4 separate regions of the Homo sapiens genome follow, and all the other regions are linked to region 4. Evidence: promoter capture Hi-C in 16 types of primary human blood cells and fetal thymus (Javierre and others, 2016). All regions are on one chromosome and are shown on one strand. Each heading gives the region's core, a stretch centred on a gene start or on the middle of the fragment in contact. The rest is flanking DNA. Distances are from core to core; before and after follow the strand shown. Region 1 overlaps LOC105374510 (a long non-coding RNA gene). Region 2 has its middle 360 kb from the start of LCORL. Region 3 overlaps LOC105374510 (a long non-coding RNA gene). Region 4 holds the start of DCAF16 (DDB1 and CUL4 associated factor 16).

Region 1 (3,160 bases), core at 545-3,044, 730 kb after region 4:
AAGTGTAAAATTATGCCTTATGTCCTAGAAAGTGAACATATACTTACAGTAAATATTTATGAAACAAGGAGTCCAAATGTACTATAAATTGTATATATTACACATAAAACACAACTCTATTCTGCCATAAATATGACTTAAAACTAACATGCTAGTGATAATAATTCTTGAAAGCTTCGCTAGATCCCATTGATCTTGTTCAGGGCTTATTGCAGTCCTTTTCACATAGAAGATGCCCAAGAAATGCTTCTGAATTGAATTAAACTGAATCTGTGCAAAGTTCATAAAGCACTTTCACATCCATCATGCCATTTTGTTCTCTTAATAATACTTCTGTATGCTTAGTAGAGAGTATCCCAATTTACAGACAAAATGAGGATCATAACAACTTAGTCACATTTTTTAAGATCAGAAAATTATTGAGTTGTGATGCAAAAGCTCTTATCTACTTTTTTTTGGCTCTAAGTTTAGTGTGTTTCCATGTTGCCTCACACAAATATTGATGATTCAGATGACCCAGGTCTGCACAAAAAAGTTTGCATAGCCAAGTGCTTTTTCTCTTAACAACTTTTTCTGGAGCAGAGACATTCAAAATCATTTGATTTATCTTAGTTCTGCCTCAATATAAAATAATATTTGAATGGGAGTGAATTTCCTATTGATGAGTGTTATAGTTTGGATTTATACCCCACCCAATCTCATGTGGAATTGTGATCCCCAGTGTTGGAGGAGGGGCCTGGTGGGAGGTGATTGGATCATGGAGGGCGAACCTCCCCCTTGCTGTTCTCCTGATAATGAGTTCTCATGAGATCTGGTTGTTCAAAAGTGTGTAGCACCTTCCCCGTCTCTCTCTTCCTCCTGCTCCGTCCATGGAGGACAGATCTGCTTCCCCTTCACATTCCATCACGATTGCAAGTTTCCTGAGGCCTCCCCAGCCATGCTTCCTGTGCAGCCTGTGGAACTGTGAACCAGTTAATTATCTTTTCTATATAAATTATGCTGTGTCAGGTAGCTCTTTATAGGAATGCGAGAACGGCCTAATACATTGAGTAAGATAAGTTGGGTGTTTTTCTCACCCAACGATAATTTCAACAGGAAAGTCTGGCCTAAAGTTTATCCCTGCTTCTTCTCCTATGCCAGTTATTTTTATAAAGAACTACAGTTTGCTATCAGGACAAAGAAAGGCTACTTTAATACATTAAGCAATGACTTCGCTCCATTTGGTCTTTGTGTATGAACTCAGGGTGCTTCCCATTTTATGGAAAACTTGACACAACAATTACCACCCAAATAACCTATAATTTTATAAGGTAATCCAATGCATCTACCAAAAATTGTCAAAACAGGAAAAGAATGGTATGTCAAGGGAGCATCCTTTATTAGAAAGTGAGTGTGCTGCAGTGTTCAAAACCATGGCTTCCAATGTCAGATTCTCTGTGTTCCAGTCTCTTCTCTGCTTCTTACTAGAAGAGTGAGCTTAGCAAGTTACTGAAACCGCTCAGTGTCATAGTTTTGTCATCTGAAAATGGATATAAGAATGATACCAACCTCATATGATTGCTGTGAAGATTAAACATGTTAAAATACATAAAACTGATAATCATTCTTAACAAGAAACAAGAATTTAATGAACTGTAGCAAGTACTGTTATTGGTTATACATTTTTGAACAATAGTGGGAACTTCTAATTGTCTGCCTAAAATGTGCTAAGGATTAGAAAACTAGACAATTATGCTTAACATAGATTTCAGTAAAATCTGAGCTAATAGTATCTACATGTAGATTGAATGACTCATACAAGGTAAAAAGTGCTAGTTGTTCTGTTTACTAGAATTCTGAAATTCACTTTTGGAGTCACAATTATGTTTAACTACTAGATTAGGAGAGGACTTCTTTGCTTTTATCACTCTGTTTCTCAAACAATTGGCACATTGTTGGTGCTCAGTAAATTCTTCTGTAATGAATGAGTAAATAAATGAACAAATTAACAGGATTTCCAGAAGTTTGACTTGTGATTAGGTTACCATATAACTACCAAACCTATTAAGTTGGCCATCTTGATTTTACTACTGAATGCATTAGCTTGACATGTAGATACACTCTTCTGAAATATAGCTTTTGAAGTTTAGAAAGATGTAGCTGCATTATAAATTTTTTCAGTGCTAATTGTTAGTTTTTCGATTACTGCAATCCCAGTATTTTCACATTACCTATGCTCTTCTACTTATATGAAACATAGCAGAAAGAGACCATAATCTAATACATTTAAATTTGCCACAATGGAAAAGGAAATACATGGCTGTTAAGTAGAAGCTAAATGTTAAAAACTGTATTTAAATATGATCTTTGCAAAGGTTAATGACTTTTCTGAAGACAGAGACTTTGTATTTTATGTTTTATCTTTGTCTTGAAGATTTTGGTGCAGACCAACCATTAATAATTCAAAAGTAGTTTCATAAAAAATAGTATGTGGGGGTCATTTTGTGCTGTGACCCTCTGTCTGGTTTACTGACTTAAGGAAAGATGAATGACCTGAAAGAAGAGTTTATTCCCTTCCTGAGGGCTCGGAAAGACTTGGGAACTACTTTCATAACCTAGAGATTTTGAAACTTCCATTATAATATGGATAAAAAAGAAGTGAACCACAATATTAGTTTTAATGGCATGTTGAAATGTATAATTCTGTTTGTTTTGTCATATTCTGTGAACATGAGATACTCCCTGGCCTTCAAATTTTATTTGCTTATTGGCTGTTTGGAGCTTGATACTTTGCTACATGAACAATGTTAGCAACTGAGATAGAGAAACAACTACCTCCCTCCCCTCCGCTCCCCTGCTACACTGCAATCATCATTTCTATAGAAAATGTCATTCCAAATTCTAGCTTTTATTTCTGCCTAATTCTATGATTATTAGGAAGTAGATGCTCCTTAAATTTTGCATGACAAAGTGATTTCAATAACATTTCTCTGGAGCAGCCCCAGAATTGGAGCTGTCATCTGCATCTGACCCTTTCCTTAGGGCCTCAATGCCCAAGGAATGGGAAAGATTTTGTCCTAAGGGTCTGTGGGTTGAATGTGGGAATAAAATATTAATACTCCAGATAACAGAAGTTACTTTTTATGGCATACTCATTATGTGCCAGGTACTGTGCAAAGCA
Region 2 (3,055 bases), core at 319-2,818, 570 kb after region 4:
TGAAGGGGTACAGCTAGGATAAATGTGGGACTAGAGAGTAAGGTGGGGGCTGGGTCACAAAAATTATAAGCCCCCTTTATAATGAGGCAGCCTTGGTCTCACCTCCCTCATTCCAGCTGAGGTAAAAGGACTTGCCTTCCTCCTTCTCTAACTTACTTAGACACCTTCAATTTTCTGTCACGTGCATAATACCCTGTTAGGTACCTGGGGGTAGGATACTGATCTAGTGATCTAATTCTTTTCTCCAAAACACTGATGAGATTGTGCTAAATGTGTGCTAAGCTTATGACAGAGACAGAATTATTTTAAAAACTCTTTGGAAAATGAAATTCTGGTTCACTTGACCCAAGGGATTGGGTCACTTGAATTCCGTGTGTATATACGCTCAGTAAAACACGTCAATATACTTGGTTCAAAAACAAAACTGAATCTTTCTCATGCTGGAGCCTGAAGAACCAATATTCTACTCAATAATGCACTGATTTTTGATGTAATAGTTCTAAAATTTCTTCTCTGCTTCCACTTCCTTTTCCTTTGTTTTTTTCTGTCTTTCTTCTTCCATTTTTGTCTTTTCATTAAATCCATGTTGTCTAATGAGGTTTGGAATTGAAATATCGATGTTTAACCCAGAATTATCCCCATTGGTTTCTGGAAATAGTCTTTATTTCAGCTGATGTACAAGGAACTGTTGACTTCATGGGTTTGTTCAAAACTGACACTTGCCTTGCCTGCCAACTCCTTGCAACTGCTCAAGCACTGTTAGCATAAAGAATGATTATTTTATATAAAATAATCAGAATATCTTTAACAGTCATAGGTCAATGACAGGAAAAATGGTAATTTTGGGGAATGGGGCTGGGGAAATCCAGCAATGATTTTTATTTTATTTTGTTTTAAAAAAAGTGTTAAAACTGAAAACATATTTTGCCAACCACCTCCTCCCTTGCCTTTTTGAAAGTCCATATGTTCTTTAGGGAAAAATTGAATTCAGCTTCATTTGAGTCTTTGCAAAATTTTAAAAGTGTTATTTGATGTGCAAGATTTCTAGGTCTTCAGAAATCAGACCTAAAGTCAATTGTTTGGATGAAATTCAAACTGCATTTTCTCAACACTTTGAAAAAAATTTGAGTAAGATTCAGAAGTTCAATCTTTTTCTACTGCTAGTTGGCAGCAGATTGACACACTGGGAGAGTGTATTTACACATTGCTTATTTTCTGGTAGATGTTAGGAGGTCATAAATTTTGTTCATAACCATTTTTATTCAGTATTTAATAAACAAGTTTTGCTTTGAACCAGCAGTGGCATGTTGTAGCTTTTGTGATTCCTCTTTCTCACGGGTGGAGTGGGTTCATTTTCTTAGTAGGAAAATACATTGCTCTATGTATGTTAAGCAACTTTGAGAGAAAATAGCCAATTGAAGGTTGTCAAGTAGAAATGAGCCTCGGAAAATCTATTTATACTTGTTTTGAATTCGGCAAGAACCTGATTATCTCAGTGGCTGAGTCCAAATTAGGATCCAGTTGAACAGGATAAGGCAAGTTTGCTGAACAGGAGGATGGGGGATGTTGGAATCTAATCCTTTCCCTTTTCACTATCTTACTGTGTGACCCTCATGAAGGCATTTCTTTTTTCCTCCTTGGGCCAGAGTTCTCTCATTTGAAACAGAAGAAAATAGACCATAGCAGTGTTTTCAAGCTGAGTTCTTCAGAGCCCTGTGGTTCCAAAAATTGCTGTCTCCAGAGTTCCCCGGCTTTTATAGGTTTTATATGTAAAAGGTTTGCACACACACAAAAAAACTTAGATTAAAACGATTTGGTGACTACAAAGAAAGATAGAACAACCTTTAATAAACTGTACTGTTTTAGATTTAAAAAATTTTTTTTAACTTATATAATTACTAATTCTCATCATGGGTTTTAAATGACCTAAAGGAAATAATACCTGGACTTGAGCTTTGGAAATAGAAGTTTGATTTTACTTGTTGACACTGATCTGTTACATCCCAGGGATACTGGCCTTAAGTTGCTCCTCTGCTGTTTAAAACATACTGCTGGGTTTTAAAAGTGGCCTATACAATAAGCATCTTGGTAAAATCAGGTGGCAATATCTCCTACAGCTGAAAATGTGAATAATTTAGGACTAGTAATTCCACACTTAGATAAATGCCCAACAGAAATGCATATATATGTACATCAAAAGATATACACAAGAATGTTTATAGCAGCATTATTTGTAATAACTCTCAATTGGATAATACCTACATTGCCACCAAGAGTAGAATGAATAAATAAATTTGTGTTGCATTCTCACCATGGAAAATTATTCAGCAATGAGGATGTTGGATCTGCAACTACCCACAGCAAAGAGAAAAGAATACATCCTTATGAATTTAGAAAATGCAAAATCAGGAAAAACTAGTCTATATTATTGGAAGTCACGATTATGGATACTGCTGTGGGAGGAGATGAAAAAGTGGGAAAGGTTAATGAATGGGGGCTTCTGGGATGCACATAACGTACTGTTTCTCAACCTGGTGCTGGCAACATGTGTGGTCAGTTTTTGGAAATATATTAAGCTGTACAAATGTGATGTGCACCTTTCTGTATGCAGATTATATTTATTAAAATTTAAAAAATTCCTCTAGATTGTCTACTAAAGTCTGCTTCCCAAAATTAGTTAATTCAAAAGAAAATATTGTTATCAGTCTTGATAGTACTTTATTTTTATATCATGGGCAAAAGGGCATGAGTTAAATATTAAGGTATTAAATTGAAATAATATTGGGCTAAAGGTGTTTACCTAATCATGTAAATGATTACCTGCCACCTTTGGTCACAGTGTTTCAGCCAGTTGTAAGCTTGGAAGGTGCTGGCTGATACTCTTACATCACTTGATATATTTTCCTTTCTTCTTATTGACTGTTTAGAACTCAACTCCTAGAGTTTTCTGTTTCTCCTCATGAAGGATAAACTGCTACAGAAATTTCCCTCATGCCATAACCAGATGTAACTGAGAAAAGTATATGAACTAATAATTGCCAGGCATTGGACAATA
Region 3 (3,320 bases), core at 606-3,105, 800 kb after region 4:
TCAACACTTTATTATAAAATAGGTTTTGTGTTAGATGATTTTGCCCAAATGTATGTGTTCCAAGCATGGTTAAGATAGACTGGGCAAAACTATACTGTTCAATAGGTTAAGTATATTAAATGCATTTTCAACTTATGATATTTTCAACTTATGATGGGTTTATTGAGACATAAAGCTAGCATAGGTGAAGAAGCATGTGTATTACATACAGAAAATAAACAGAGAAAGATGAAGGCATGCAAGAAGCAGTGGACCTACACTAGCAGAGAAGTGGTGGATTCTCTACAGTGGGCCTGGAGAGCAAATGGTGTGCATTGAAGAATAACAATAGAGAGGGAATTTTCTAGGGGAAAAAATAAAAAATAGTAGAATAAGCCTAGATAGTGAGATTAAAAGATTGATGAAAAAAAGTGAGGCAAATAACATTTAATTAATAGTATCAAGGCAAATAATACAAGAATAAAAGAAAGGTAACTAGAATTTTAAAAAATAAATTTAAAAGAGAAAGTAAAATAACACACGTGCTGATTTTCAGCAGTCGACCGAATATAGGAAAGCAGGCTGCATTGACTGCAATGCTAGCAGTAGTCGCAGAGTGAGAAGCAGTAGCAGCGGTGAAGGGATTTTCATATCCACAGAGTATTCTTGCTTCTCTTCCTTCCCACTTCCCTCCTTCTCTGCATATTGACTTTTCCTAATTTGTCTCAAATGTTTGTCCAAGTCATGTATACATGAAGTGACACATCAAATAATATGGAAGAATCTCCCTCAGTAATAGCTCCAGGAATCCAATATAGAACCTATAGAAAAGCAAACATGACCTTAACAAGCCATAATTATCAAACACTGTTTATCGCTTTGCACCTTTTACAGTTATTTACTTATTTATTTTATATTATTATCTTTTTTTTTTTTTTTTTTTTGAGACAGAACTTCACTCTTGTTGCCCAGGTTGGAGTGCCATGGCCCGATCTTGGCTCACTGCAACCTCCGCCTCTTGGGTTCAAAGAATTCTCCTGCCTCAGCCTACCGAGTAGCTGAAATTAGAGGTTCCCATGACCGCGCCTGGCTAATTTTTGTATTTTTAGTAGAGACGGGGTTTCACCATGTTGGTCAGGCTGGTCTCGAACTCCTGATCTCAGGCGATCCACCCGCCTCGGCCTCCCAAAGTGCTGGGATTACAGCGTGAGCCACCACACTCAACCCCTTTTAGGGTTATTTTACAAACAACACTTAGAATTCACGAATGCAGTGGCAGAACAAAATGTAGCCGTGTTAAGTGAATGTGCATCTAAAAAAATAACGGAAGAATGGAAGCAGAGGAGCTGATGAGTCTTTTCTTTTAAATAAAGGAAGTGCTGCTAAAAATCTTCATTTCATATTGTGGAAAACCAAGAGATACAGTCGAAAGTGAGTGGAACAGAAATGGAGGCATAGGTCTATTACTTAGTATTACAAAGGGGGCCATTTGAAGAACGGGAAAAGTATATGAATGTTAACCTTGAGAAGGAAGAGAAGGGAGAAAGCAGAAGTTTAAAAGAGCTAAGTCATCATATTGTGGAGTCATTATTTGTGGTCTAAAAATGATAAATCAAGAAATAGAGTTATGAACATGTCACTTAATGTCAGGAGGAAAATTATCAGAAGAGCCAAAAACAATGCTAAGAATGAATGCCACTGTGTAACCAGACTTGGTAGTGTTTACTGGGGTGTGCAAAAGAGTTTTGCTTCCTTATTAAAATTGGTTTATGTTGTTTTGTTACTGTTGATTTGTTAAGTGCATATATGGCTTAAAAACAGTCTTAAAAATAAATTACAAAAATATGTGAGGATTTTAGAAGGAAGGCAGGGAGGAAGAAAATGAGGGAGGAAGGGATGGATGGAGGAGGGAGGAAGGAAAGAAGCAAGGAGGGAAGGAAGGAAGGGAGGGAGGGAGGAAGGAAGGAGAAAGGGAGGAAGGAAGGAAGGAAGGTGAAAGGGAGGGAGGAAGGAAGGAAAGGAAGGCAGGAAGGAAGGGAAGGAGGGAGGAAGGAAGGGGGGAGAAAGGAAGGAAGGGAGGGAGGAAGGAAGGAGGGGGGAGGAAGGAAGGAAGGGAGGGAGGAAGGAAGGAGGGGGGAGGAAGGAAGGAGGGGGGAGGAAGGAAGGAGGGGGGAGGAAGGAAGGAAGGAGAAAGGCAGGGAGGGAGGAAGGAAGGTGAAAGGGAGTGAGGAAGGAAGGAAAGGAAGGCAGGAAGGAAGGGAAGGAGGGAGGAAGGAAGGGGGGAGAAAGGAAGGAAGGGAGGGAGGAAGGAAGGAGGGGGGAGGAAGGAAGGAAGGGAGGGAGGAAGGAAGGAGGGGGGAGGAAGGAAGGAGGGGGGAGGAAGGAAGGAGGGGGGAGGAAGGAAGGGAGGGAGGGAGGAAGGAAGGAGAAAGGGAGGAAGGAAGGAAGGAAGGTGAAAGGGAGGGAGGAAGGAAGGAAAGGAAGGCAGGAAGGAAGGGAAGGAGGGAGGAAGGAAGGGGGGAGAAAGGAAGGAAGGGAGGGAGGAAGGAAGGAGGGGGGAGGAAGGAAGGAAGGGAGGGAGGAAGGAAGGAGGGGGGAGGAAGGAAGGAGGGGGGAGGAAGGAAGGAGGGGGGAGGAAGGAAGGGAGGGAGGGAGGAAGGAAGGAGAAAGGGAGGAAGGAAGGAAGGAAGGTGAAAGGGAGGGAGGAAGGAAGGAAAGGAAGGCAGGAAGGAAGGGAAGGAGGGAGGAAGGAAGGGGGGAGAAAGGAAGGAAGGGAGGGAGGAAGGAAGGAGGGGGGAGGAAGGAAGGAAGGGAGGGAGGAAGGAAGGAGGGGGGAGGAAGGAAGGAAGGAGAAAGGCAGGGAGGGAGGAAGGAAGGAAAGAAGGAAGGAAGGGAGGGAGGGAGGAAGGAGGGGGGAGGAAGGAAGGAAGGGAGGGAGGAAGGAAGGAGGGGGGAGGAAGGAAGGAGGGGGGAGGAAGGAAGGAAGGAGAAAGGCAGGGAGGGAGGAAGGAAAGGAGGAAGGAGAAAGGCAGAGAGGGAGGAAGGAAGGAAAGAAGGAAGGGAGGGAGGGAGGAAGGAAGAAAGGGAGGGAGGGAGGGAGGAAGGAAGAAAGGGAGGAAGGACGTCTGTGGAACACTACCATTGCTATCATCACCTCCATGACCACTCTTACCACCCCTGCTGCTGTTTCTACTTCTGCTCTGCTACTGCCCGGGATTTATGACATGCTCTCTGTGTACCTAACACCATGCTAAATGTTTTGCATGTATCATCTAATGCAGCAGTCCCCAAACTTTCTGGCACCGGGGACCAGTTTTGTGGAAGACAATTTTTCCACAGAT
Region 4 (3,063 bases), core at 370-2,869:
AATTAAGCAGGAGAATGGATAAGGTATGGCATATTAATACAATGGAGTACTATAGCAACCTGTCTGTGCCGTAGTTTCCTCATCTTAAAAGAAGATCAAAGTTATCCTACAGGGTTTGTGAGCAGTAAACGAAGTAAAGTGCTTAGCATGGTGTCTGGCACATAATAAAGGTTAATTAAGTGCAAGTTACTATTATGAACATATCAATATGAACCACAGCAATATTGATTGAAAAAAGCCAGATGCACATATAATTATTCATTTAACGGTTAAAACATGCAAAATAGTACAATATCCTCATTCAGGGATTTATTCATGTCATTAATATATTAAAATATGTCATTAAGATATAGAAAGCTGCATGGTAAAAGTTAACAGTAAATTCAGAAAATCCATTACTTCTTCGGAGGGCAGGTAATTCAAAAGGAGAAAGATGTACAGGTGGCTTTAGTAATGTTCTATTTCTTCAGCTGGCAGTAGGTTACTGAGGTGTAGGAGAGGGAAAAACGGCTTCCCTCCATCCTCCTAGGTTCTTTGGCTGGGTTACAAATTAACCTGACATAGACATTAACAAGAAAAAAAACCCGTACTTAATTACATACGCAGAGGAGTCCCACCATGGTCAGATGATTGAATATTATACAGCATCCTACGCTACTCAAGAAATGGGGGCTTGCGGCTTTCTGGGGGATGGTGGCCACAAAGTTGTGGAAAGGTGAGGGGAGGAAATATACGGTGAATAAAAGTTGTCTTGGTATGCAGATAAGATCTCCCAGGTAACAAAAATTATCGCAGAGCTGCCCTCTTTCTGATACAGATCCTTTACTGATGTATATTTCCTCTGTAGATGTCAATTTCTTTTACAACAGGACAGATTTTCAGAGCGACTCCTGTGTCTGCATTTTATCAGAATACCAGCTCAAAATATACTCTAGAAGTATATTGTAGGGTGGCATATTTTGGTCTCCTACAGTCCTATTTTTGGATGGTGCATCCTGAGATCCAACAGAAGTTCTGTCTGATATAATTTCATTTAAAATTTAAAAACCTAGTTCCTACTCTTCTTTATTTTAACCACTACCCGAAAGACCTTTCCATTCTCTTGAGTTCTCCCTTAATACACTGTCCTTATGCACACTTGTAAACAGGGCCTACACAGCTGCACATCTAGAAACGGCAGCAGCTAAGTTAGCCCGCACCCCCCTTCGCAACGATCCCCGGACTGCCTGCACGCCCTGTGGAACCTCGCAGTCGGCTTCACCAGGGCAGGGACTAAGGCCTTCAAAAGACAGCATCCGTCTCCACTAACCTCGGGTCGCCCCGCTCAGCGGACCCAGCAGCGTCGTCTCCCTTCTCAGAGGTGGCCGGGCCTCCGGAACGCGCTACGAACTTTCCTTTGTCGCCGTCTCTCGAAGCGGAGCCCTCGTGTGGGGATCCCCCGCCCTTCGGCCACAAGGGAGGTTGTTATCCTCGGCAGATCTCCCGTTCTCACTCTTGGAGGATCGCTTTTTCTTTCTAGCCTCACGCTCAGCCGCACGACCCAGCCAGGCCTAACGCCAGCAGCCCTTCCCCTCCGGTGGCAAGGCCACTCCGCTCAGCTCCCGCGCCGACGCTACTTCCGGCCGAGTCAAGGCCCCTCCCCCTTAGAAACGCCACTTCCCTCCGTGAAAACGGCTGGACAAGGTTGAACCTAGACGCATGCGCCCAAAGCGCGGGGTGCGAGGTGGGTGGACCCATCGCTTCCCGCTCTCTTCTCCCAAAGCGCTTACGGCAGTCTCGCGGGATTTCCCCCTCTCGCGGGAATTATTTGAACGTTCGAGCGGTAAATACTCCCTGGGGCTGTCATAGAAGACTACTCGGAGAGCGCTGCCTCTGGGTTGGCGGGCTGGCAGGCTGTAGCCGAGCGCGGGCAGGACTCGTCCCGGCAGGGTTCCAGAGCCATGGGAGCGGAAAGGAGGCTGCTGTCGATTAAGGAGGCCTTTCGGCTGGCGCAGCAGCCGCACCAGAACCAGGCGAAGCTGGTGGTGGCGCTGAGCCGCACCTACCGCACGGTAAGCGCTCCCGGCCCCGGCCGCCGCCTCTCGCCCGCCCCGGCCCACCCTCCCTCAGGGGCCCTCCGTGGCCCTCGGGCTCGGCGCACCGTGACTCCAGCCTTGTTCACCTTCGCGACTCACTTCATAGGGATCTGAGGTTCGGAGAAGTCAGGGACTTACCCGAGGTCGCCTGGGCCCAGGCCAGAAAGCCTCCGAAGCCTGGGCGTCGTTCACACGGGCCCCGCCTTGGCTTTTCTGAGCCGACACCCCCAGCTTCTGGGCGGCGTGGACCGTTATTCCTTAGTCCGATCGTGAACGTGGAGAGAAACATTTACGACCACCGAGGCGATCAGACATCAAATATTGAACCGCAGAGTGGATCCTGAATGCGGGGGTTCAGTGGTCGTTGCCCCTGGGGTCATCGCTCCCCGCCGAACATCAAATGATTCTACCCTTGTCCTACGGTTACGTTGAATCCAATCACCAAATACCAAATTATTTTTAGGGCCTGGCCATTCTTATTTATGTACATACTATTTGTTTGTTTTGAGTGGAACCTTGAGAAGAATAGAACAATTAATTTGGGGAAGATGAATTATCTTGAGGTCCAAGAAAAATTGTGAGTAAACATCACAGGGCTTTGAGGATATGAGATAGGATGTGCAAGTTATCTCATAAAGAAACTGCTGGTGATAGGAAGGCCTGAATATGAGAAATATAAAAGCCAGTATTGATTTTGGGTTGTTGAAGAAGCGTATTTGTAACGTACTGGTACTAAAGGCTTATTGAGAATCAAAGATATTGAAAAAAATATATCAAAGGAATCTTTTCACTGTCAAAAGTCAAGCTTGTGTACTCCCATTATAGCCTGGAGAGAAATTCATGCAAATTGATTGCCCTTTGGCTGGTTTGGATAATTAAGAGTTTACTAAATAAATATTTTAATTTGTCTGCATTATTATGGCTAGTGCTTTCATCAGTCTTAGGGTGATGTTGGGAATAAAGGATTTTTATCGGTGCAGTTTATGAA

What was found. The method cuts DNA at HindIII sites, captures the fragments that hold promoters and counts their contacts. A CHiCAGO score of 5 or more calls a contact.
Region 1: a contact is called between a fragment that was not itself captured here and the fragment with the promoter of DCAF16 in region 4, in 1 of 17 cell types (endothelial precursors). The highest score is 5.5, in endothelial precursors.
Region 2: a fragment that was not itself captured here is called in contact with the fragment with the promoter of DCAF16 in region 4 in 1 of 17 cell types (M1 macrophages); the score reaches 6.9 in M1 macrophages.
Region 3: a contact is called between a fragment that was not itself captured here and the fragment with the promoter of DCAF16 in region 4, in 6 of 17 cell types (naive CD4 T cells, total CD8 T cells, naive B cells and 3 more). The highest score is 7.6, in naive CD4 T cells.

What each region holds. Positions count from the first base shown.
Region 1 is chr4:18,539,679-18,542,838 of GRCh38, forward strand. The region is part of intron 1 of LOC105374510 (a long non-coding RNA gene); the gene reads left to right. Among named protein-coding and RNA genes, the nearest start is that of LCORL, 520 kb to the left of the region's middle. The HindIII fragment of the contact is 3,244 bases long and covers 173-3,160 here.
Region 2 is chr4:18,380,661-18,383,715 of GRCh38, forward strand. No RefSeq gene overlaps it. Among named protein-coding and RNA genes, the nearest start is that of LCORL, 360 kb to the left of the region's middle. The HindIII fragment of the contact is 2,576 bases long and covers 281-2,856 here.
Region 3 is chr4:18,609,659-18,612,978 of GRCh38, forward strand. The region is part of intron 1 of LOC105374510 (a long non-coding RNA gene); the gene reads left to right. Among named protein-coding and RNA genes, the nearest start is that of LCORL, 590 kb to the left of the region's middle. The HindIII fragment of the contact is 8,531 bases long and covers 1-3,320 here.
Region 4 is chr4:17,809,138-17,812,200 of GRCh38, forward strand. DCAF16 (DDB1 and CUL4 associated factor 16) reads right to left here and starts at 1,620. Exons shown (of 3, transcript NM_017741.4): 1 at 1,310-1,620. It overlaps NCAPG (non-SMC condensin I complex subunit G), which reads left to right and starts at 1,842. Exons shown (of 21, transcript NM_022346.5): 1 at 1,842-2,051. The coding sequence starts at 1,941. RefSeq lists enhancers at 1,158-1,247, 1,289-1,800, 1,368-1,527, 1,801-2,313. The HindIII fragment of the contact is 3,530 bases long and covers 1-2,878 here.